7 separate regions of the Homo sapiens genome follow, and all the other regions are linked to region 5. The links are contacts of gene promoters, found by promoter capture Hi-C in blood cells and fetal thymus (Javierre and others, 2016). All regions are on one chromosome and are shown on one strand. Each heading gives the region's core, a stretch centred on a gene start or on the middle of the fragment in contact. The rest is flanking DNA. Distances are from core to core; before and after follow the strand shown. Region 1 overlaps SERPINE3 (serpin family E member 3). Region 2 overlaps INTS6 (integrator complex subunit 6). Region 3 overlaps INTS6 (integrator complex subunit 6). Region 4 overlaps INTS6 (integrator complex subunit 6). Region 5 holds the start of CCDC70 (coiled-coil domain containing 70). Region 6 overlaps NEK3 (NIMA related kinase 3). Region 7 overlaps INTS6 (integrator complex subunit 6).

The links. The method cuts DNA at HindIII sites, captures the fragments that hold promoters and counts their contacts. A CHiCAGO score of 5 or more calls a contact.
Region 1: a contact is called between a fragment that was not itself captured here and the fragment with the promoter of CCDC70 in region 5, in 2 of 17 cell types (erythroblasts and total CD8 T cells). The highest score is 6.1, in erythroblasts.
Region 2: a fragment that was not itself captured here is called in contact with the fragment with the promoter of CCDC70 in region 5 in 3 of 17 cell types (naive CD4 T cells, total CD8 T cells and total CD4 T cells); the score reaches 6.4 in naive CD4 T cells.
Region 3: a contact is called between a fragment that was not itself captured here and the fragment with the promoter of CCDC70 in region 5, in 2 of 17 cell types (non-activated CD4 T cells and total CD8 T cells). The highest score is 5.9, in non-activated CD4 T cells.
Region 4: a fragment that was not itself captured here is called in contact with the fragment with the promoter of CCDC70 in region 5 in 1 of 17 cell types (total CD4 T cells); the score reaches 6.1 in total CD4 T cells.
Region 6: a contact is called between a fragment that was not itself captured here and the fragment with the promoter of CCDC70 in region 5, in 4 of 17 cell types (megakaryocytes, erythroblasts, total CD4 T cells and 1 more). The highest score is 6.6, in megakaryocytes.
Region 7: a fragment that was not itself captured here is called in contact with the fragment with the promoter of CCDC70 in region 5 in 5 of 17 cell types (total CD8 T cells, total CD4 T cells, monocytes and 2 more); the score reaches 7.6 in total CD8 T cells.

What each region holds. Positions count from the first base shown.
Region 1 is chr13:51,361,178-51,364,240 of GRCh38, forward strand. It overlaps SERPINE3 (serpin family E member 3), which reads left to right. Exons shown (of 10, transcript NM_001386375.1): 8 at 101-187; 9 at 633-716; 10 at 3,062-3,063. INTS6 (integrator complex subunit 6) reads right to left here. Exons shown (of 18, transcript NM_012141.3): 18 at 400-3,063. Among named protein-coding and RNA genes, the nearest start is that of MIR5693, 14 kb to the left of the region's middle. The HindIII fragment of the contact is 3,328 bases long and covers 1-3,001 here.
Region 2 is chr13:51,425,350-51,428,242 of GRCh38, forward strand. The region is part of intron 4 of INTS6 (integrator complex subunit 6); the gene reads right to left. Among named protein-coding and RNA genes, the nearest start is that of INTS6, 26 kb to the right of the region's middle. The HindIII fragment of the contact is 8,376 bases long and covers 1-2,893 here.
Region 3 is chr13:51,385,656-51,388,820 of GRCh38, forward strand. It overlaps INTS6 (integrator complex subunit 6), which reads right to left. Exons shown (of 18, transcript NM_012141.3): 7 at 1,731-1,885. Among named protein-coding and RNA genes, the nearest start is that of MIR5693, 39 kb to the left of the region's middle. The HindIII fragment of the contact is 3,264 bases long and covers 1-3,165 here.
Region 4 is chr13:51,446,678-51,449,469 of GRCh38, forward strand. All of the region lies in intron 3 of INTS6 (integrator complex subunit 6), which reads right to left. Among named protein-coding and RNA genes, the nearest start is that of INTS6, 5.0 kb to the right of the region's middle. The HindIII fragment of the contact is 3,998 bases long and covers 1-2,792 here.
Region 5 is chr13:51,860,285-51,863,306 of GRCh38, forward strand. CCDC70 (coiled-coil domain containing 70) reads left to right here and starts at 1,685. Exons shown (of 2, transcript NM_031290.4): 1 at 1,685-1,945. It also overlaps a transcript of TMEM272 not described here. RefSeq lists an enhancer at 1,287-2,486. The HindIII fragment of the contact is 6,103 bases long and covers 1-3,022 here.
Region 6 is chr13:52,132,304-52,135,119 of GRCh38, forward strand. NEK3 (NIMA related kinase 3) reads right to left here. Exons shown (of 16, transcript NM_002498.3): 15 at 1,386-1,512; 16 at 344-923. The coding sequence ends at 839. LOC101929657 (a long non-coding RNA gene) reads left to right here. Exons shown (of 2, transcript NR_110306.1): 2 at 155-420. Among named protein-coding and RNA genes, the nearest start is that of NEK5, 4.6 kb to the left of the region's middle. RefSeq lists an enhancer at 48-1,247. The HindIII fragment of the contact is 576 bases long and covers 1,017-1,592 here.
Region 7 is chr13:51,404,743-51,407,865 of GRCh38, forward strand. The region is part of intron 4 of INTS6 (integrator complex subunit 6); the gene reads right to left. Among named protein-coding and RNA genes, the nearest start is that of INTS6, 47 kb to the right of the region's middle. The HindIII fragment of the contact is 1,096 bases long and covers 953-2,048 here.

The DNA of each region.
Region 1 (3,063 bases), core at 88-2,587, 500 kb before region 5:
ATACTATAAATTTTGTAAGTACATTTTTAAAGAATGTGTTCTAAATGTGTTAGAAAAATGTTAATGAGCAACTCACATTTTTATCATTTTCTGTGGTTAGGCCAAGATGGCTTTTATGTTTCTGAAGCAATCCACAAGGCCAAGATTGAAGTTTTGGAGGAAGGCACCAAGGCATCTGGAGCCACAGGTATGTTCAGAGAATACCCAGTCACACTGCTTACCCATATCTACCTTTCTGAAATTTACCTAGTTGAATCTTCACACTTCTGAATCTTTCCATAACCCCCAAGTTCAGGTGTGGTGTAGTATTTTTTAAAAAGGAACACTAAAGAAAACAAAAAGTTTTTGAAAAATGACGGGGAAGAAGAGATATCCATCCCATAAAAATAATTCTGAAAGTTACCTTCAATAAGGAATTTATTCCATGGAATGTGTTGAAAACAGGAGACAGGATTGGCTAAATGGCATCTTTTCTCTTTAATTTTCCCATCTGCACCCCCATCACAACAGTAAACAATCAAATGCCATTAGGATGCTTTGATTTCTTAAAAAATTAACTTACTTCATAACCAATAGTTATTTTCTTAAAAATGCACAGAAAATGCAATGGAATTTTTCTTTCTTTCCTGCAGCTCTGTTGTTATTGAAAAGGTCTCGGATTCCTATTTTTAAAGCAGATCGGCCATTCATCTATTTCCTGAGAGAACCTAACACAGGTATTACAGTATTTTTTGACAGGATTCAGATAATTTATCAGTGTCTCTCTAGCAACAAGGGCTCATTTGTCCACTATCCCCTCAAAAATAAGCATTCTTTCTAGCTGTTTTTATGGTGCTTCAGAAGCTACCCAGTTGCTATCTTCTATCCTAAGAAAGGGGACTATTTCGTAAGTACAAAGGAAACTTATCCTCCATGTTTTTTACCTTCTCATTCTCTCAGCTCATATATAGTTAATGTAGATTTTTTTTTTTAATGCTATAGGTTTCTACTTCTGAAGACACTTGGAAAAATCATGAAAGTAAAATAAATTATAAATCTTGCCCTTTTTTCCCTTTGTCCCCTAGCTTTCTTATCATTTTAGAGTTTTTTCAGGTCACTAGAGTACACCAGAGTAGTCCTCTTGTGATCCTAGTATTCTAATGAATGCACCTGGATTTCTATACTGTTCTGTTGATCTTTCTCAAAAATCAAATGTTTGCCCTAGTACTTTTAAGTCCTACTACATAACCTTATGGTAATCCAAAGATGGTGTGGTACCGGCAAAGCCTCAGTACATCAGAAGGACACACAAATATTCTTAGGCTTCGACAATATTGAACAAAGTCTTTAGATTATTTCTCTTAATGTTCTTCCTCCCCCACTCACAATTACTTAGCCTAGGAAGGAAAAGAGATTCTCAGTTAAGAGTTGTTGGCAAGTCTAAACAGTGTATTAAAAAGAAATAGGATAGAACAAGACTAATAAAATCAAGCAAAGGTGGATCTACTTTAACTAAACATCAGGCATTACTTTTATTTATGGAGAAAAATGTCAAAAGTTAGAATGAAAATTATGCATAGTTTTACATAAATTGTTAAGGAAATACTGTCAACATCATTTTATCTGAGAATCATTTGCATCCTGCTGTACCTTGTGCTAGAAATCAAAGGAACATTTTTGTGACGAGAAAGATATAAACCATTCACTAGAAAATAATCTATTTGGGATTATTTGGAGAGAAAAAGTCCATCAACAGAGTATGTCTTCCTAGTATTTCACCATGATCATCCCAACCACATAACGATTAGATGAAAATATCACTTATCACCCAGAACAGGCGGCAGAGAGCCTTCTCTTAGAAAGGACACGTCAAAAAAATGAAAGATGAGAAAAAGGACAGGTTCTACTCCCTAAGGAAACAAAGAGACAGGACTACATTTGAACAGAAAGGTCATTGCCAAAAGCCAATAGCCAATAAAGGTTGATAGGTAAAAGAGAGATTCTGATTTTGGAATTCAAGTGCATAAAAATGATGTAAAATCCTTAAACAAGGAAAAGACACACCACTATTTCAATGGTAGGAGTTTTCAGAACTGCCTCAGTAATCAGAATGAAAATATAAGGATAATCCAAAACCAGTTCCACAATCCACTGGAATTCTAATAGTCCTTGTGACTTTACCTCTATCTGGGAGGCATTAGCCTACATCACACAACACAGTGGCTGCTCTTCTGGTGATGGTTATGGAAGAGTTTAGAAATGAGTCTCAGCCTTCATTATTTCCAACTGACAAATCTTACTAAGAGCAACTAATGAATCAATCAGCAAATGAGAAACATGGGAGACATTAAAAAAAAAGATTTGAAAACCTCAAGATTAAACTTTCCAAGAATATCATTTGTCGAGCCTTAAGTCATTCAGTGACATAAAGGGCCTAAAAGACATGATGTTTCCCCTAGATGTATTTCCCTTCCCCTTTGACAATAATTCTACAACAAGTATTCTAATTTAACTAATATACCCATTTTTTTTTTAAATGAAAAAAGCCTGAGGGAGATGAGATATTAACCTTTAGTTCTGATAGGTTTCAAACCCTCCTGACCAGGTTTTAGGATGAGGTGAGAACAGTGGCAGAGAGATAAAGGACAAAAAGAAGAGATGAACAAAACTGCTACTTCTCACCTCCCTCCAGGGTTCATTCAGAAAAATGTATTAAAGGTCATGAGCAATCTGTGAAACAGAAAATAAAACTTTCTGATAAGGAAAGCTGCTCAATATTGGGATGGGCTGAATCTCTTTCCTAGATACTCTTGTTAAGTATGAATTTTTATCTGAATGACTTCTAATTCCTCCTAGTAATTCCAGAATCTAAATATATATAATTTAGGAACAGACAATATATTCTGGATTTTGTGTAACTCTCAATGAATTTAGCAATGTGACTACAGGCAATTACCTTAACAATTCCATCTATTAAATGTTATCTTGCATTACTTAAAAGTATTTGTATAGAAGTAAACAAAGCTTAAAGAACTGCATATGAAAATACTATATAATATTAAATTCTTCTTTTTCTTGACAGGG
Region 2 (2,893 bases), core at 381-2,880, 430 kb before region 5:
AGTTGTCCTAGTTGGGCTTAAAAAGCTGGGACAGCTAATAAGCAAGTAAAACTCTTCCCAACAGATTACTTTGGCTGCAAATACCTTCTCTCAACGTTAGCCTCCACAGCAATCATAACATTGGTAAAGAGATGCAGAAGGACTTGTCAGCATATAGAAATCTCAATATTTGAAAGACAATACTACTATTAGCACTTTCAAGGAAGAGAAAAATAACTGCTACACTATCCTGGAATGTCATTCATCACTAAGAAAGTACTGGCAGGATTTCTTCTGGGCTCCTCTATTGAGCAATATTCATTAGCCATGTGTTCCTGGAATCATAGTACAGAATAGTTTTCCATTGCAAAGCAGTACTAGAGAGGATTATCTGCAGATATCAGAAGAAAATCCTTTTCAATAACTCTAATTTGTTGATTCTACCAAAACATTTGATATATCAGTTATATAACATGACAAACAGTACTGAGTATCTGGACACAGGTATGTTTATCAACATCAACGGTAACTACTAAGGAAGTAAGTAATATAGTTTTATCGTGTTTCAGAATTCAAAGTCCTATCAAACACACTCCTCGTAAGTGAAAATGCTACAACCAGTTTTATCAAATAGCTGCATTAAAAAAAAAGCCAAATATATACACATAAAATTCAATCCAAGTAATCATCAGAAATCCTAGACAGTTATCCAAAAAGACTACACTAGAAATACATTCATGACACTTCAGACAATGGCCTGGACTTTTATTAAATGAGGCCCAAGGATATAATTGAAATCATAAATTAATGTAAAATGATCATATACAGCTCAAGATTTTCATTCATAATGTATCTATTACTTTTCTTTCCTAACTCATAACACATTGCTAAGTGACGAGCTGTCCCAGAGAACAGTATTCCTACATTTTTCTGACAAACAAGTTATAAGAAATTGGTTCATTTGGGCCTATACATACTTAGCCAGGTCAAGAGACAATATGGCACCACATTTTTCCTGCCGCTAGGAAAACTATTTTCTAGGCTCAAAACAACTTTACACTGGGCTTCTTCCTAAAATTCACAGATACAAGGTAGGAGCCACACCCTATGCCAAATCATCCATAAGATCCTTGAATTCAGTCATTCAAAAATGAAATTATACTATAAAAATGCACATTATACAAGATTTGACACACGAAAGGTAATATTAACCCTTCCCCTGCTTTAGTACTCCCACACACTTAGTATGTATCCTTATTTTATCATTCATAAAACCATTTAATAGGTGATTTCCCCCATAACACTGTGAACTTAAATATTAAGAACCAGATATGTCCTGTTTATCTTTGTTATCCTCATTGCCTAGAAATGCTCTGGTCATAATAGTTTTTCATGGAACACTGAATAAGAACAGAATACCTAAAAGACACTTACATAGAAAGCTGAAGTAGACAAATAAGAAATCAGATAAATAGAAGGTAAATTTTAAGAACACACAAATTTAGAATCAAGCAAAAAGGCAGCAGCCGTATCAGGAAGAAAGCACTGGTCTGGAGGTGCTGGAATGTCTTTGGAATTGATAAATTCTAATCTAGATTTTGGCAGTAACAAATGTTATAACCTAAGCAAATCACTCTGACTCCCTGGATCTCAATTTTCTCATTTGTAAAATATAAGACTAAATGAGTTCTATATTTCCTCATATGATATAAGGATGATTTTAAAGCAGCAAGAACATTTACTCCTGAAAAACAGCACCAACAGAACAGATATAATATACAATGTTGGATAACATGACTCTTAAGCAAAGGATATCATACAGGTGGAATTATACAACTCCATAAAAAGTAATAGGTCATACCAACACCAGCCACAAGCCAAACAGGAATTATGTACACATATCTCTAATGTGGAAATTAATGACACATTCATACACTGAATAAATCTAAAAAAGAATCAAGTTCTGCCAGAGGCAAAGGTTGAGAGATGTGAAAAGACAGTGATATAAAGGCAAAATTGTTATTCCCTAGTAGGAACCAGAATACAGATCATATCTAGCATTCATGCACGTGCACAATACAAACACAGAAGAACAATACAAAAAGCATCTTTATGCTTTTCTATGAATTGAAAAGCTCCTTAAAACAAATCCCATAATTATTTAGGCTAGAATATTTCACAATATCTCACAACATTTAGCAAAAATTAATCTAGGATAACTTTCTCATTGCTCCAACGAGAGTCTCGTTGGTACATTAAGAAGAAAACACGCAGGGAATCAAAGACATTCCTAACCTTGAAACAACTCACCGGCCTATGTTCCAACTTCAAAATAATTTACTTTTGCTTTAAAACAAATGAACCTTCCACCTCAGATAATAAGGTGCAACGGTAATCAATTTTGAACTCAATGACTACCAGATTCAATACACCAATGTTTATAATCAATACTTTTTAAAAATATAGGCTCTGTTGTCAATACTATGCTAGTATTGTAAAAGATAGAACTAAAAGGTAAAAACTCTGCCCACAGGAAAATCTTCCTAACCTTACTAGCAAGGTAGTTTCAGGTTATAAACACATTGCCCTATTTTTCCAAAATCCTTCCCAAGGAAAGACATAGGAAGAAAGGTGAGCAATTCCAATACACATGTATATTTCAAGATATTTTTAAGCTAGAAGAGGTCTCCACAAAACAAATTTTACAAACAAAACAGATCCAGACATATGGAAACAAAATACATTGTACCCCAAAGGGCATTTCTACAAAGGCAGTAGACAGCACCTCAAATGCATCACCTCGCACATAAGAATACTTTACAACAGAAAACAGAAATAACTTCTCAAGCAAAATCATTATGGATAAAAACAAAACAAACATTCAAAAGACTTTTAATTTATTAATATATAAAGT
Region 3 (3,165 bases), core at 324-2,823, 470 kb before region 5:
CACATCTTGTAAATTACACTTAACTTCAGTAGCAATATTTCTTCAATATTGTAATTTATAAAAATTTCACTTCCCCTAATATCCTTCAGTTACTAAAGTTTGCCAGTTCTTTCCAATATTATTTATTATTCTCTCTTCCATCATCATAATTCAACCACTTAAAATCTCTTACGTGAACCATATCAATAGCCCTCATAGGTAACCTACCTGCCTTTCAACTCATCTCCCCTTCTAATTTTACTGCATATAACCACCACCAAATCAATTTTTCTAAAGATGTCTGTTAAAAACATCTTCGACTGCTCTTTGAACTCCACTGTTTAAAAGCTAATATTCCTTAACCCTGCATTTAAAGTCATAAGCAATTTGGTTAGTTTAATAGTACTCTCAATGTCCTATATACATGTTATGATCCACCCGTACTCAGCTACTTGTTACTCCTCTAAACATACCTTGTTCTTTTTCACTTCCATATTTTTTTTCTCATACTATTTCCTTCTCCAATTGAAGTCCTACCTACCCTCTATGGCTTCTAAGAATTTGTGATAGACTGCTAGAGCAGCATTAATAGATAAGGGTTCTGATACTGGTTTTGGATTTCTTTCCATTACAACTCAGGTACTGTATGTTCTCCTGTACATGTTAAATAAATAGAATAAATAACCAACATGACAATATTTCATACAAATACGGTATCTGTTCTGTAAGAGTTGAAAGAGCTCCAGAAAAGAAAGTAAAATGACCAAAGAAATTGGAAGTTTCTCCATAAAGCCAGACTAAAAAACTATGATGGTTCTATCAGAAAAAAAGAAAAGGTATAATGAAGATACTTCAATGAAATTTAGAAAACCTTAACTTCATGCACTACTTTATTAAATCCCTAATGAATAAAGGAAATATCACTTTATAAACTCAAAATAAAAATTATCCTGAAAAGCTGATACAGGTTTGAAGTACAAAAGGTTTCAAAAAGGTTTTGTTGTATCAAACATTATTAGACTGCTTAATGATCTCTGAAATACAATTCTTATTTTCTAAAGGTAAAATCAAGGAGAACCACTGCCATGCTCTCCCACAAAATATCCCTTAATGCCCTCAGATACTTAGAAAAAAAATATGGAAAAAAAGAGTACACTAACACGACTAAATGGATATTAATTTGTATAAATGTACCCTATTATTTTAAGAATTATATAATGAATACTGATAATTCACCATGATCGCTCAGCAAACTTCATTTTTCCTAAAAATAATTCAGGTAAACAAAATCAGAAAATCTGTTCTAGCTTAAACCTCCAATCTGCAACACTGTATATAACTAAAACCATACATATCAATATGAATTTAAGACTAAGTCCTAAAAAATTGCAGGCAAACTATCAAAATTATTTTCTAAGCCTTCATTTAAATCCTAAATTGTGTCCCAGAGACAAATCCTCATTTAGAGTCTAAAGAGGAAATTTTGAACCCAGAAGCCAAGAATAAAAATCGCAAGCATAGTATTAGATTCTAAACGAAGGAGATGCCTTTTTTCTATTACTTCATAATAAACAAAGTAACAGGGTTATCATAGCAAAGCAACATAATAAAGCAAGTAACAGGGTATCATAGCACTTTGAACATCTGTCTAATCCCCATAAATTAATCACAGCTTTGACAACAGAATTTGAAACTAATAGGAAAGACAGCTGAATGGTTACTATTACATAGTTACAGTCTCTGGTACTTACTAGTGTTGGCGAATTTTGATCTGGCCAAAAAGACTCTGGAACAGGCCAATGACCTATAGGAACCCCAGTTTTAGGATTTGGTCTGACATATATGAGTTTGTGACAGCTATGCCAAGGCTGAGATCCAAAAGGCCTTGATATATCTGGCTGCCCATCTATAGCAAAGAAATTAAGACAAAGAAAGCATATATCATAAGGGGGGATAAGCATAAAAAGTTAAATTATATCAATTATTACTTAAATTAATAAAAAATTCCTAATATCTTTTTCCAGGTTTTCCTATTTTTCTTAAATGGCAGAACACTATGTCTGCTGAATATTTAGACTAGATTGTAATTCATTAGACAATAAGTACAAATTCCAACTATGAGTTCGCCAGTTCAAAGGAGGTCCGCAGCATCCTTTGCCTTCCCAACTGGAACACACAAAACATACTTTACGGTGAATATCTGTTTGATGAATGGCATGTTTTCTTCATCAGATGATAAGAGCAAGCACCCAATTTGCCACCTTTATCATCATATCCCAAATGTCAAAAACAGTGCCAGGCACACAATAAATACTAGAATAAATAAGTACTGCAAATTGAGTATTTCTTAGAAATCATTTTAACCGAAGCCTAAAAAAAGAACTTAATAAGCAAATCTAGACCAAAGCACCTACCTTTAATCTAAAATAATTTTAGCAAAACAGCAACTATCTTCAACAATCCAGTAAACATTTACTAGTAACAAACTCTAAACAAAGCATTAAAATAATTTAAAATAAATACACTGTAACAATTAAAATTTTTTTAAGTTTGGTTTCGTTAAAGCAGACATGACACAACTTATTGTTATCACCCATTCCTTCCCTATAGTACCCTCTCAGTGCCCCCATTCTTTCATCTCTATGATCTTTCTCTTCTCCCAGGTACCTACTTTAGTGGACCACCTCTGCCAATTATCATTAAATGATTCTCTAAATCTTTGTGTGTGTGTGTGTTTTGTTTTTTTTTGTTTTTGTTTTTGTTTTTCTTTTTTTTTGAGATGGAGTTTCACTCTTGTTGCCCAGGCTGGAGTGCAATGGTGTGATCTCCACTCACCGCAACCTCCACCTCCCGGGTTCAAGCAGTTCTCCTGCCTCAGCCTCCCGAGTAGCTGGGATCATAGGCATGCGCCACCACGCCTGGCTCATTTTGTATTTTTAGTAGACACGGAGTTTCTCCGTGTTGGTCAGGCTGGTCTCAAACTCCCAACCTCAGGTGATCCACCCACCTTGGCCTCCCAAAGTGCTAGGATTAGAGGTGTGAGCCACCGTGCCCAGCAATGACTCTTAAATCTTGAAATAGGTAACATACAATGCAGAGGGTCTCAACTATAAACCATCCATTGGTTCTACTATAACTCCTTATATCCACTGGCTATTGGAAATAGTTCATGATTACAGAAGCCAA
Region 4 (2,792 bases), core at 67-2,566, 410 kb before region 5:
GATAAGCAAAATGTGGTACATACAATAGAGTATTATTCAGCCTTAAAAAGGATGAAAAAATCCTGACATGCTAAAATATAAATGAATGTTGAGAACATTATGCTAAGTGAAATGAGCCCATCTAAAAAGGCAAATACTGTATGATTTCACTTAACTGTGATATCCAGAGTAGACAAATTCATAAAAACAGAAAGTAGAATAGAGGTTTCCAGGGACTGGGAGTTACTTGATATAGAGTTTCAATTTTGCAAGATAAAAAAGTTCTGGATATTGGTTGCACAGCAATATGAATATACTTAACACTACTGAACTGCACACTTAAAGATGGTTAAGATGGTAAATTTTGTTAGGTGTTTCTTACCACAATTTAAAAAAAAATTTTAATTAAAGGAATTAAAAAATTTACAAAATACTATTCATCATTGTGTTTCCAGTTTATATTCAACACAGCAGTATTTCAGGTATAGTAATTAACTTACTTTCATTTGAAAAGATGTCTATAGCTTAATAAATATCAAACTCTTATTCATACATTTGTTGATAATCTAAGAGAAACCAAGCACCCAAATGGAAATGGAGTTCTCACTACTTCACCTGCCAGCCTTCAAAAAGAAGCCTGTATTTCACACTACCTATTAAATGGGTACTATTTAGGTAAAGGGAAAAAAAAGTAGTATTAGAACTATAACTGTATTATCTCCTAAGTTTACAAAATAGACCTTTATGCTCAAAAATAAAATTGGTTAAAATTCTTTTCCCTGAGAATCATTAAATTTGATATTGTACGAAAGCCACCATTTTTCAATGAGGTAAACATTCACCATAGAAAATCCTCAAAAAATTAAGCACATATTTTATCTCCTTTTAAGATATCTGTCAAGGATTGTCTTCACCAAGGGCACATAGTAGGAAAGGTGCCATTCTAACTCCTGGAACAATTTAATCAGTACTAACATACTTCAGGTAGCAGGGGTGTGGAATCAGGTCAGTAACAAAAACGGACTTGCAGGCCAGAGTAAAGATATATTGGCTAATCTTAACTAACATAATTTACTGAAAAAAAAAAAAAAAAAAAAAAAAGACAATGTTGAAAATATCGGGCCGGGTGCTGTGGCTCACGCCTGTAATCCTAGCACTTTGGGAGGCCAAGGTGGGCAGATCACCTGAGTTCAGGAGTTCGAGACCAGCCTGACCAACATAGAGAAACCCAGTCTCTACTAAAAATACAAAATTAACCAGGCATGGTGGCTCAAGCCTGTAATCCCAGCTGCTCAGGAGGCTGAAGCATGAGAATGGCTTGAACCCAGGAGGAGGAGGCTGCGGTGAGCCGAGATCGCGCCACTGCACTCCAGCCTCGGCAACAAGAGAGAAACTCTGTCTCAAAAAAAATATACATATATATTGATGGAAAACAGGATGACCTGTAACAATAAGAAAATTAACTCATCTACATATAAAACTTTAATCAGACCTCTCACATTTTATACATTTCCTAATTTTAGATATTAAGGCTGCTTCAGACTTTCAGCAGGTCTCAAAGGATCAGCATTATTTGAAACTCTGTTGAACACACGTGAAAAACTTATGTATCAAATTTATCTGCAATGATATGCAACTTAAAGTACTGCTATAAAGGAAAAGATTGACTAAAGGCTATACATTGCTCCATTACTGTAGAAATATCAGTAAATGGTACTGATTATCAAAATTAAATATTTATAACAATGTCTGTAGGCATGGAATTTTTTAGTGGGATACCCAAAGTGCTTGAGGAAAACATTCACTAAGAACCATTCTTTTTTCTCAGTTACTTAACCTTACTAATGCCCTGCAAATTCTGATAGCATCCTAGCTAATAATTCAAAGATGTTTTATCTGTAGGTATGTTAACTAAGTTAACAAATGCAATATAGATTTAATAGTCTTGTAATTAGTTATGAAAAATCATATATGTGCATATATGTGGGAGAATGGTGGATATCTACATAAATATACAAATATATATATTAACCCAGACATTTAAGAAAGTAATTCAGAACATTAAAGTTTTTAGATGTTCTATAAAATATATACGTTCTATCTTCCACCTAATCTTTTCTCATTTCCTTCAACTACTAACGTTACATACAAGTATTTAGTACTGTGAACACCACAGATCCTAGTATAGAGCAGGAAAGGGGAAATACTTATGTAAAGACATTGAAGTTACAAAATAAAAGTATTCCACAGCAAACAGGCAGATACAAAGTACTTTTACAAAGAAGAAAACACATGAACAATATTCAGTATTAAATATTTGAGACATCCAAAATTCCTAATCATTTATCCTTGTTGTGAATAGAAAACATGAAATGTTTAAATCAGATAGTTTTATGATGAAAAAAATCTTCTGGAAGAATGTTTTCTTCCAATTCAATACTCTTTACTCAAATTATCATTTTCATTTGAAAACAGTGGCTTATTTTAATGCTAGTGTCATTTTTAATGTGCCAATTCAAGACATAAGCATTAATATTATGCTTTGCAATCTTTGCTGATTCATCAGAATAAGTGAGAAGCATCATCCCTCTCTGTTATTGAATTAATAAATCCTGACATGCAAAAACATCCCAATCTCCAGGTTCTTCTCTTGGTCAAAGTGGTAACAGCACAGGACCACCTTTCCCGCAAACTTTTGGTAAGCCTTATAGACAAGAACTAAAGTGTTCTCTGGGGGCAGATATCAACTGGGAAAAGGAAAATACAGGTTTAAATTACAAATGTCCTCAGCCTCTCCATGACAAGCAGTTTTT
Region 5 (3,022 bases), core at 435-2,934:
ATTTTTAGTCAGCTATTACAAATGTAGTTAAAGAACTAAAAGAAACCATTCCAAAAGAATTAAAGGAAAACAAGGCCAGGTGTGATGGCTCACACCTATAATCCCAACAGTTTGGGAAGCCGAATGGGTAGATCACTTGAGCCTAGAAGTTTGAGGCCAGCCTGGGCAACATGGAGAAACCTTATCTCTAAAAAAACACAAAAAATTAGCTAGGTCTGGTGGCGCACGCCTGTAGTCCCAGCTACTTGAGAGGCTGAGGTGGGATGATCACTTGAGTCCAGGAAATTGAGGCTGCAGTTAGCCAAGATCATACCATGCCATTGCACTCCAGCCTGAGTGACAGAAACATGTCTCAAAAAAAAAAAAAAAAAGCATTAAAGGAAAGAATTAAAAACTATGCCTTACCAAAAAGAGACAGAAAAGTATGTGTGCATACATATATATATGTGTGTGTGTATATATATATATACACACACACACACTTTGTATACATATACTTTTATATAGATATATAGAAAAAATATATATATAGAAGTGTGTGTGTGTGTGTGTGTGTATATATATGTATATAGAAAAGCACATATATCCTTTTCTATATATAACCAAACAAATTCTGGAGACACAGTGAAAATTTCTGGAGAAATTCTGGATGGACTAGGGGTCCACTGACAGATGAATGGATAAAGAAATTGCAGCATGTATATAAAGTGGAATATTATTCAGTCATAAACAGAGAATCCTGCCGTTTGTCACAAGATAGATGAAACTGGAGAATATTATGCTAAGTGAAATAAGCCAGACACAGAAAGAAAAATGCTGCACAACTTCACTTATATGTAGAATATTAAAAAAATTAAAAAGAAGAAGTAAGAAAAAAGTCAAATACACAGACAAAGAATAAAATGGCAGCTGCTACGTGTGGGGAGTGGACGGGAAGAGGGAAATCAAAGGGTACAAAGTTGCAGATATATAGGATAAATAATTTAGAGATCTAAGGTACAACATGAGGACTGTAGTTAATAACACTGTATTAAAGATTTTTGCTAAGAGAGTAGATTGTGGGTGCTCTTGCTACAGTGCACAAAAAAGGGTAACTATATGAGATGATGGATATGTTAATTTACTTGACTATTTAAAAATTTTACTACATGACAAAAATTCTGGAGTTGAAAATGAAAAATTAAAGAGGGATTCAACAGCATATTTGAACTGACAGAAGAAAAAAATCCATGAACTTGTAAACAGGTTAATTGAGATTATCTAATCTAAGCAACAGAAAGAAAAAAGAATGAAGAAAAATGAACGTAACTTTAGAGACCTGGGGGACACACTCACGCTACTAGTATTCACATAATATGAGCCCTAGAAGGAGAGGAGACAGAGAAAATGGATGAAAGAATATTTGAAGAAATAATGGCCAAAAACTTCTGAAATTTGATGAAAAACGGCATCAAATCTGCATATCCAAGAAGCTCAACAATCTCCAAGTAGAATAAACCTCAAGACCAAGACACATCATAGTCAAACTATCAAAAGCCAAAGACGAAGAATCTGGAAAGCAGCAAGAGAAGTGATTCATCCCACACAAAGCCCCCACCAGAACATGACTTCCTAGAACCATGCTCCCGGAACCAATGCTGACAGAATCTAAGGTAACAATCACTTGTGAGTCATCAACAGCACTGCCCTATCAGTGAAGTCAAAGATTGAAGAGGAACTCTTTCAAACCTTTCAAGTGCCCCCTCCTTTCCTTAAAGTCTTTTATAGGGGTCCCCTTCTTGGCCATCTCCATCCTGTGAGTCAGGACTGAAAGGGCACAGACAGGTCACTGCCAGCATTGTTGGGGCAAGCCTGCAAGCACGCATCACTGGGGATCTGACATGACAATGGCCGCCTGCCCCCTCTGAGGGCTACAGGACTTACCCCAGTGGGAAGCAGCTAAGCAGTAAGTAACTGTTGGCTTTAGACTGTATAGTATTTGTTCTAAGCATAAGGTAATATATAATATTTTCCTTAAAAAGAAGCTCCTAGTCTTACAGTATAACTGAAAACTGGGCATGTATCTTTAGTGCATGTTTTTACAGCTATACAGATACACATCTACAGTTTTATATTGTACTTTATATTTTAATACACATCTACCTATTTGATATGGTTCTTATTTTCTTTCTTTCTTAAAGAAAGTTTAGTGTTCACTTGAGAAAAACTTGGAGGTGAATGTTTTCCAACATCCTAACCCAGTAGACGCCCATTCATCCAGCTACTATTTCCTGAACACCTATCCTGTGGCAGAACATTTCGCTGGATGCCAGACATAGAGATGGAAGATGAGGTGTTTCTAGTGGGACAGGAAGGGCACATGCTCAGTCTGAGCTTAGGAGAGATGGCCTGGAGGAGGTATCTGAGTGCTGAAGGATTCGCTAGGTGAACTGAAGTGAGGTTGGGCAAGGATATCCAGGGAGAGGGGGCCAGCATGACATGGAAGTGAGGGAGGACTTCACATATTGGAGGGATTCTAGGCAAAGAGCCATACAACATAGAAAATCAAATTTCCAAAATGCAGTTCAATTCAGTTCAATTCAACCAACATTTTCACCAATTCCCTCCTATATAGGCGGCGTTATATTATGATAGCTGCTGGGTTACAGAGATGTCAGGAAGACATGTCCACACCTAATTTCAATCAAGTGTGACAAGTAATAGTGGAGTAACAGACAGACAGTATCGCAGAGGTGGCGAGGAACTTTGTCTGGAGGGTCCGAGTAGCTTTCAGAGGGGAAAGGATGTACAGGAATTCAAGCCCACCACAGGAACAAAAGGGGCTCTCAGTAGAGGATGCGACATGTGCTTCACCACACAGGCAGGAAACTGCAGGCAGAGTGCCAAGAGCTGAATAGAGCCCGTTAATACTGGGCCTTAGATTTGGAGTTGGGTGCAGGCTGGGTAGGAAGGAGAGGGAGAAGCAAGCTGGAGTTGGGCTGCACAAGGCCTTCCTAGGGCGTTCAGCTTTGATCTTTGGGCT
Region 6 (2,816 bases), core at 55-2,554, 270 kb after region 5:
CACTGAAGTGCACACTATTAGATGAGGTTCACACACGACAGGACCCAGCACGTGTGCGCCATGCCTCCTCCTATTCGTTCCACATCACTCTCTAGTTTCTGATATTTACCATTAACTGCTCCTCACCTCTGGCCTCTTCCTTCCTCATCTACAGGACTGCCATCTTCTGACAAGATCTGCAGACCACCCCAAGCTTCCCAGGGCTGACCCTCCAACCCAGGCTCTTTTGTGCATCCTATGAGGGACTGTATTTAAGGACAGCTGGTAGTTGGTGAAGATCATTGGAATGATCTTCAAACTACTCAGAATCAGGTCATATTGAAAAACTGCACACATTACTAAATCATAATTAAATATATTTAATTCTCAAACCTTTAGGAAATGTAAAAAGAGTCACATAATAATAAACACATATCATAATGTGAATAATATCATACGGGCTGCTATAAAGGTCTGTGGTCAGCATCCCTCTGAGGTAGGCATTATTATCTTCATTTTATGGTTGAGGAAATTGGGGCTTGAAGAGGTTAAGTAATTTCCCACAATCACACAAGTAGGTAGTGGCACGCTAGCATCCCATTTCTGTTCTATGGGACTGCAAAGCCCGATGCTCACACTCATTCCACTATACCTTCTCCCTTGAGTTCAAAAACTTACAGGAGTTCTAGACTTTTCAAACTCACGATACTAATCAAGAACGATTTTAAGTATTAAGAGTTTCCTCTGCTTCATTCTGTTTCCAAAGGAAAATATACGTCGCATGAACTCATGATCATCTCAGCATGAACTCCTGAGTGAAGCCTCTCCTCAGCGTGACTCAGGAACATTTCCTCAGGCATTATCTGTCGCACAGGCCTTGCCATCCAGCTCGCTTCTTCAGCTCTGACACCCAGTCGGGGTTGTCATCTTCCTCCTCAAAGTCCCTGTGAAAAAACAATTTGGACCATAAACCTCTACATTAGGGGCACAGTATCTGTTGATGAGTTCAAAGCGGAATACCACCATAACAATACTTAAGCTTTTGAAAATTGAGTTCCATAAGGCAACTGAAGGGAAAAAATTGCCAGTTCTTCCAAAAGATCACTTCTTTGACTGTTTCTAAAACTTTTAAAAATATAAATCCTAATATATTAAAAAATAACAAGTCCAAGCTGAAAGGCTATAGGTGTAGGGCTCAATCAGGAATTTTATAATCATATTGTAAGGCATTACCCATCCCAGACAAAAGATCAGGATATAAATATCCATTTATGATGAAAAGTAATATAAGAGGTCCCTACTAAATCTGAAATTATCATGGTCTAATTTAAATCACACACACACACACACACACACACACACACCCCCAACCCCAGCTACAGCTTTCTATGCATATCACAACGTACGTGTCCTCCTCATCTAGCCCAGGCTCAAGTCGCTCTGGATCCAAAATGACAGAATCGTGACCTCCATCAACACTGTCCGATGCTTCTGTTTCTTCAGACAGGGGGCCTTTCAAGAACCCTTCTGAACCTTCAGGAGATATTAACAGAAAATATACCAATTTAAACAGTATTTACTTATTTCATGCAGTTTGATTAAAATCCTCCGTAAGCTTGCTGGCTGAGGACAATGCCATGTCCCATAACTCTTTTGTAGTGTCTCCCCACATTACCCAACATGATTGTAGGCATAAAACAGGCCCCTGAAGCAGAAGCACTGGGATGTGGACTAAATTTATAAACAGTACTTTATTCTTTTTTTTTGAGTCAGGGTCTCACTCTGTCACCCAGGCTGGAGTGCAGTGGCATGATCATAGCTCAATGCAGCCTCGAACTCCCAGGCTCAAGAGCTCCTCCTACCTCAGTCTCCCAAGTTGCTGGGACTAGAGGTGTCCAGAACCATGCCTGGCTAATTTTTTTAGTAGAGGCGAGGTCTCGCTATGTTGTTCAGGCTTGTCTTGAACTCCTGAGCTCAAGCAATCCTCCTGCTTCAGCCTCCCAGAGTGCTGGGATTACAGGCGTGAGCCACCACAGCTAGCCTATAAACAGGATTTTCTTTAAGAGAAAAAAAAAACTCGGAAAATTGCCATAAAACCCTCCCAATATAAGAATGTATATTAAGGCATTAAAAGTTACCCTTGGAAGTTGGGTTATAGTAATTTCTTTTTTCCTTTGAACTTTCTCCTCCCAAGTTTTCACAATGGGGAGGAAGAAAAGTAGGGAACTGAAGGAAGACCACATGCATGCTTAAAAAAATTTTCCAGGTATAATTACTTTTAGATTTTTCACAAACAGCATGAAAACCTAACCTAAAAACATGGGCCGAATCTTCTAAAAGGCATTTCAAAATAGCACTATGACATATTTTTTAAACAGGGACTTTCCTAAAATGACAAAGACTTCATCACTGGACCAGACACAAAATCCAGGACCTAAAATTGCAAAATTGAAATTCATAACCGTTAAACTTCCTTAACATTTTCCTCCCATGCATTAGCCTCTCCTTAGGGCTTCCATGATCTTTTGTGCACAGCTCTATCTGAATGCATGTATCACAGGGCACTATAATTCTTTATCAGTGTGCTGACCTCCCACGTAAAGAACTCCTTCATCCTTAGGGCAGGAATTGTGTTTTATTCTTTTTTTTATCTTAACCTTTGTTAGGCATTCAATAAATACTGACCAAATAAATACAACTACATCGTTGCAATAAATAGAGTCAGACTTGCCATACCATTACATGCTCTACTTGGTATAATCTATCTTAGATCTTAACCTAGCAAGATGGCTTAGTAATTAAATTATTATAATTATAATACACATACACATATACAT
Region 7 (3,123 bases), core at 251-2,750, 460 kb before region 5:
TTTTCTTTACCGTTTACTGCAGTGGCCTAGTACCAATGAACTCAGCACAGTATCAAAGAAATAATTAGGTCATGATAAATATACACATTTTATTGTCAACATGTGGGGACTTTTAAAAAAAATTAAAATAGGGATCAGAAATCAAGCTATAACTCAGGATTTATTTAATGAAAGGCAACACATTACACATTGTAATCTTCTACTTTCAAAAACATGTAAGTAAACAATTATGTGTTATGATATGTACAACAATAAAAATATGCATAAAGTACAAAAGAATAAATGATTAGGGGACAAACCAGGGAAGACTTCTCAGAGGAAGTAGCATCTGAGCAAGTGTGAAGAATAATAAGTTTACTGAGAATCCAGAACCTCATGCAAGTTAGGGAGTAATGAAGAGTGAAGATCATGATCAAACACATAGGAGACAAGAAATAATAATAATAAATACTGGGATGAAAACTAAATTAAACTTCAGAACTGGTGGAGAATACAGTGCAAAGGAGGAGAGAAAGATTTTTAAGAAAGCCTTTAATCCTTTAAGGATGGGTTGGATTTTAATATAGGGAGATAGAGAAATAACGTCCAGGGAAAAGGAGTACATGAGGAAAGAAAGAGGAAGTGTTCAGGAAATCAGCAGCCCAGTTGAGGTCAAGCTTAAAGAAAATGCAGAGGAATAATTAGGAAATTTTCTTCGTTCCCCAGTCCTCTCAATGTATCTGTCTTTTGGAGTTATACTTAGCCTATCAATTCTTGGATTTCCCTACTGTTAATTTTTTTTTCATAAACAACTCTTACACTAAGTCATCAATGGGTTTTTGTTTTGTTTTGGCTTGGTTACTCTGGTAGATGGCACAGTACTCCGAAGCACTCAAAGGTATTCAGAGTCTAAGTCTTACTAGGCCTAGCAGCCTTATTTCCACTTCCATGGAAGCTGGCTACCATGTAAAAAAGCTTGAATTATGCTACTAAATGATGGAGACAGAAGCCACAGAGATGAGAAGCAAGGTCCCCCAGAAAACTGGCAGCACCAAAGCCCCAGACATATAAATAAGACCATCTTGTACGTTCCAGTCCTGGATAAGCCTGGGGCTTATGTAACAAACTCACAAATTCTTAAGAAATAATAAACTGTTGTTTTAAGTCACTAAGTTTTGGGATGACTTGTTACACAGCAGCAGATCTCTCCTTGAGTCATTAAATCCATTGGAGATTTTCAAATCTGGCTTCCAAGCAGCATTCAAAACTACTTCCCAGTCTTTTGAAAGGAATCTTCCTTTGGCTTTCATGCTGAAATATTTTCATGGTTTTCCTTCTCTCCTCTGGCTGCTACTGCCTTCCATCCTCACCCCTAACCTAGACACAATCTCCAATACCTAACTAGTAAGTGCTGCAGATCCGCAAGAATCAGTCTTAGGTCTTGCCCAATGTATAGTCTCAACCCCCAACCCTACTACTCACAGCTTCAATTCCTATCAATAATCAAATAATAAAAACTGTATTTTGAGCCTCTATCTCTCTCTGAGCACCAAATATTCTGCCTCATGACACACCCCCCTGAATGGCTCAAAGGGTATGTCAAACTAAACATGTTCAAAACTGAACTTAAGATTTTCCTCTACCCAAAATGGTCCTCTTCCAATATTCCCTAACTCAGTAAAATGGCATCATTTATCGAATAATGGATAACCACCTCCTCCCTGTTTCTTACGTCACCTCCTCCCTGTTTCTTACACCCCCAACTGCATTATATGTCAGCAGGTTTTACTGATTTAACCTCCTAAGTATCTCTTGAAACTGAAACTCTTCTGCCATCACCAACCTCCTTGACCAAGCTATTGTCAAGACTAAACAACAATGCTCCAACGGAGACCACTTTTATCTCCCTCTCCTCCACCCCCTACCTCTAAATAAAACCCTTGGATGGCTTCTTATTGCTTTTATATTAATAATATTACTCAGCATGGTCTGGAAGCCCCCTGTATGGTCAAGTCCAACCTTCTTTTCCATCTTGTACTACGATCCCTCTTCTTTTATGCTCTAAGCCAAGCTTGTCCAACCCGTGGTCCACAGGCTGCATGTAGCCCAGTATGGTTTTGAATGTGGCCCAACACAAATTTGTAAACTTTCTTAAAACATTATGAGATTTTTTTGTGATTTTTTTTTTTTTTTTAGCTCATCAGCTATCATTAGTGTTAGTGTATTTTATGTGTGGCCCAAGACAATTGTTCTTCCTTCCAATGTGCCCCTGGGAAGCCAAAAGATTGGACACCCCTGTGTCTAAGCCACAGTAGCCTTCTTTCAGTTCTTCATTCTCAAAATATATTCCTTTCAGAGGAAAAAAAAAAAAGCCTTTGTACATGCTAGTCCCTCTGTCTGGTACAATCCTCTTTTCTATTTTTTGAGTAACAAATCCTACTCTCTTCAGATCTTGGCTCTCCAATGACCTCCTTGACCAGATCTAATTCATTATAAGCTCTCATAGCACATATTCCTCCATCCTGTCTGGTTCATAGAACCTAATAAATATGGCTGAATGAATACATGGATGGATGAATAAATAATGTGACTGGCTAAGTTGTGAAGGGCACTGAGCAACCTAGTAGACAATGGAAAGCAATGAAACATTGTGAACAGTAGAGTAATACACTCAAGTGGTATGCTTTAAAATAATTTTGCAACCTGCAGGACAGACTGAAAGCAGCCAAGACAAGCTAGAAAGCTAACACAATCATTTAAAAAAGCACTAGGATGATTGATAACAAAAATAATAGGAATGAAAGAAACAGACTCATAAAAGCAAAAATCCAGGGACTGATACCAAATACAGAGGAAAAAATATAGAATACGGTATGTCCTAATGTTCTGTCTACCTTAACTATTATAGTGTTGATTTAACATATTCAAAATGATAACAAGGTACTATAATAAAGTATGATTTTAAAAAAAGACTACAAAACTAAGTTCCAAATAGACGCATACATACACCATAAGAGTGTTTCTGTACGGTATGGCCAGGCATAGTGGTTCATGCCTAAATCCCAGCAATTTGGGACTTGAGGCCAGGAGTTTGAGACCAGTCTGGCCAACACAGCAAAAGCTCGTCTGTACTAAAAATACAAA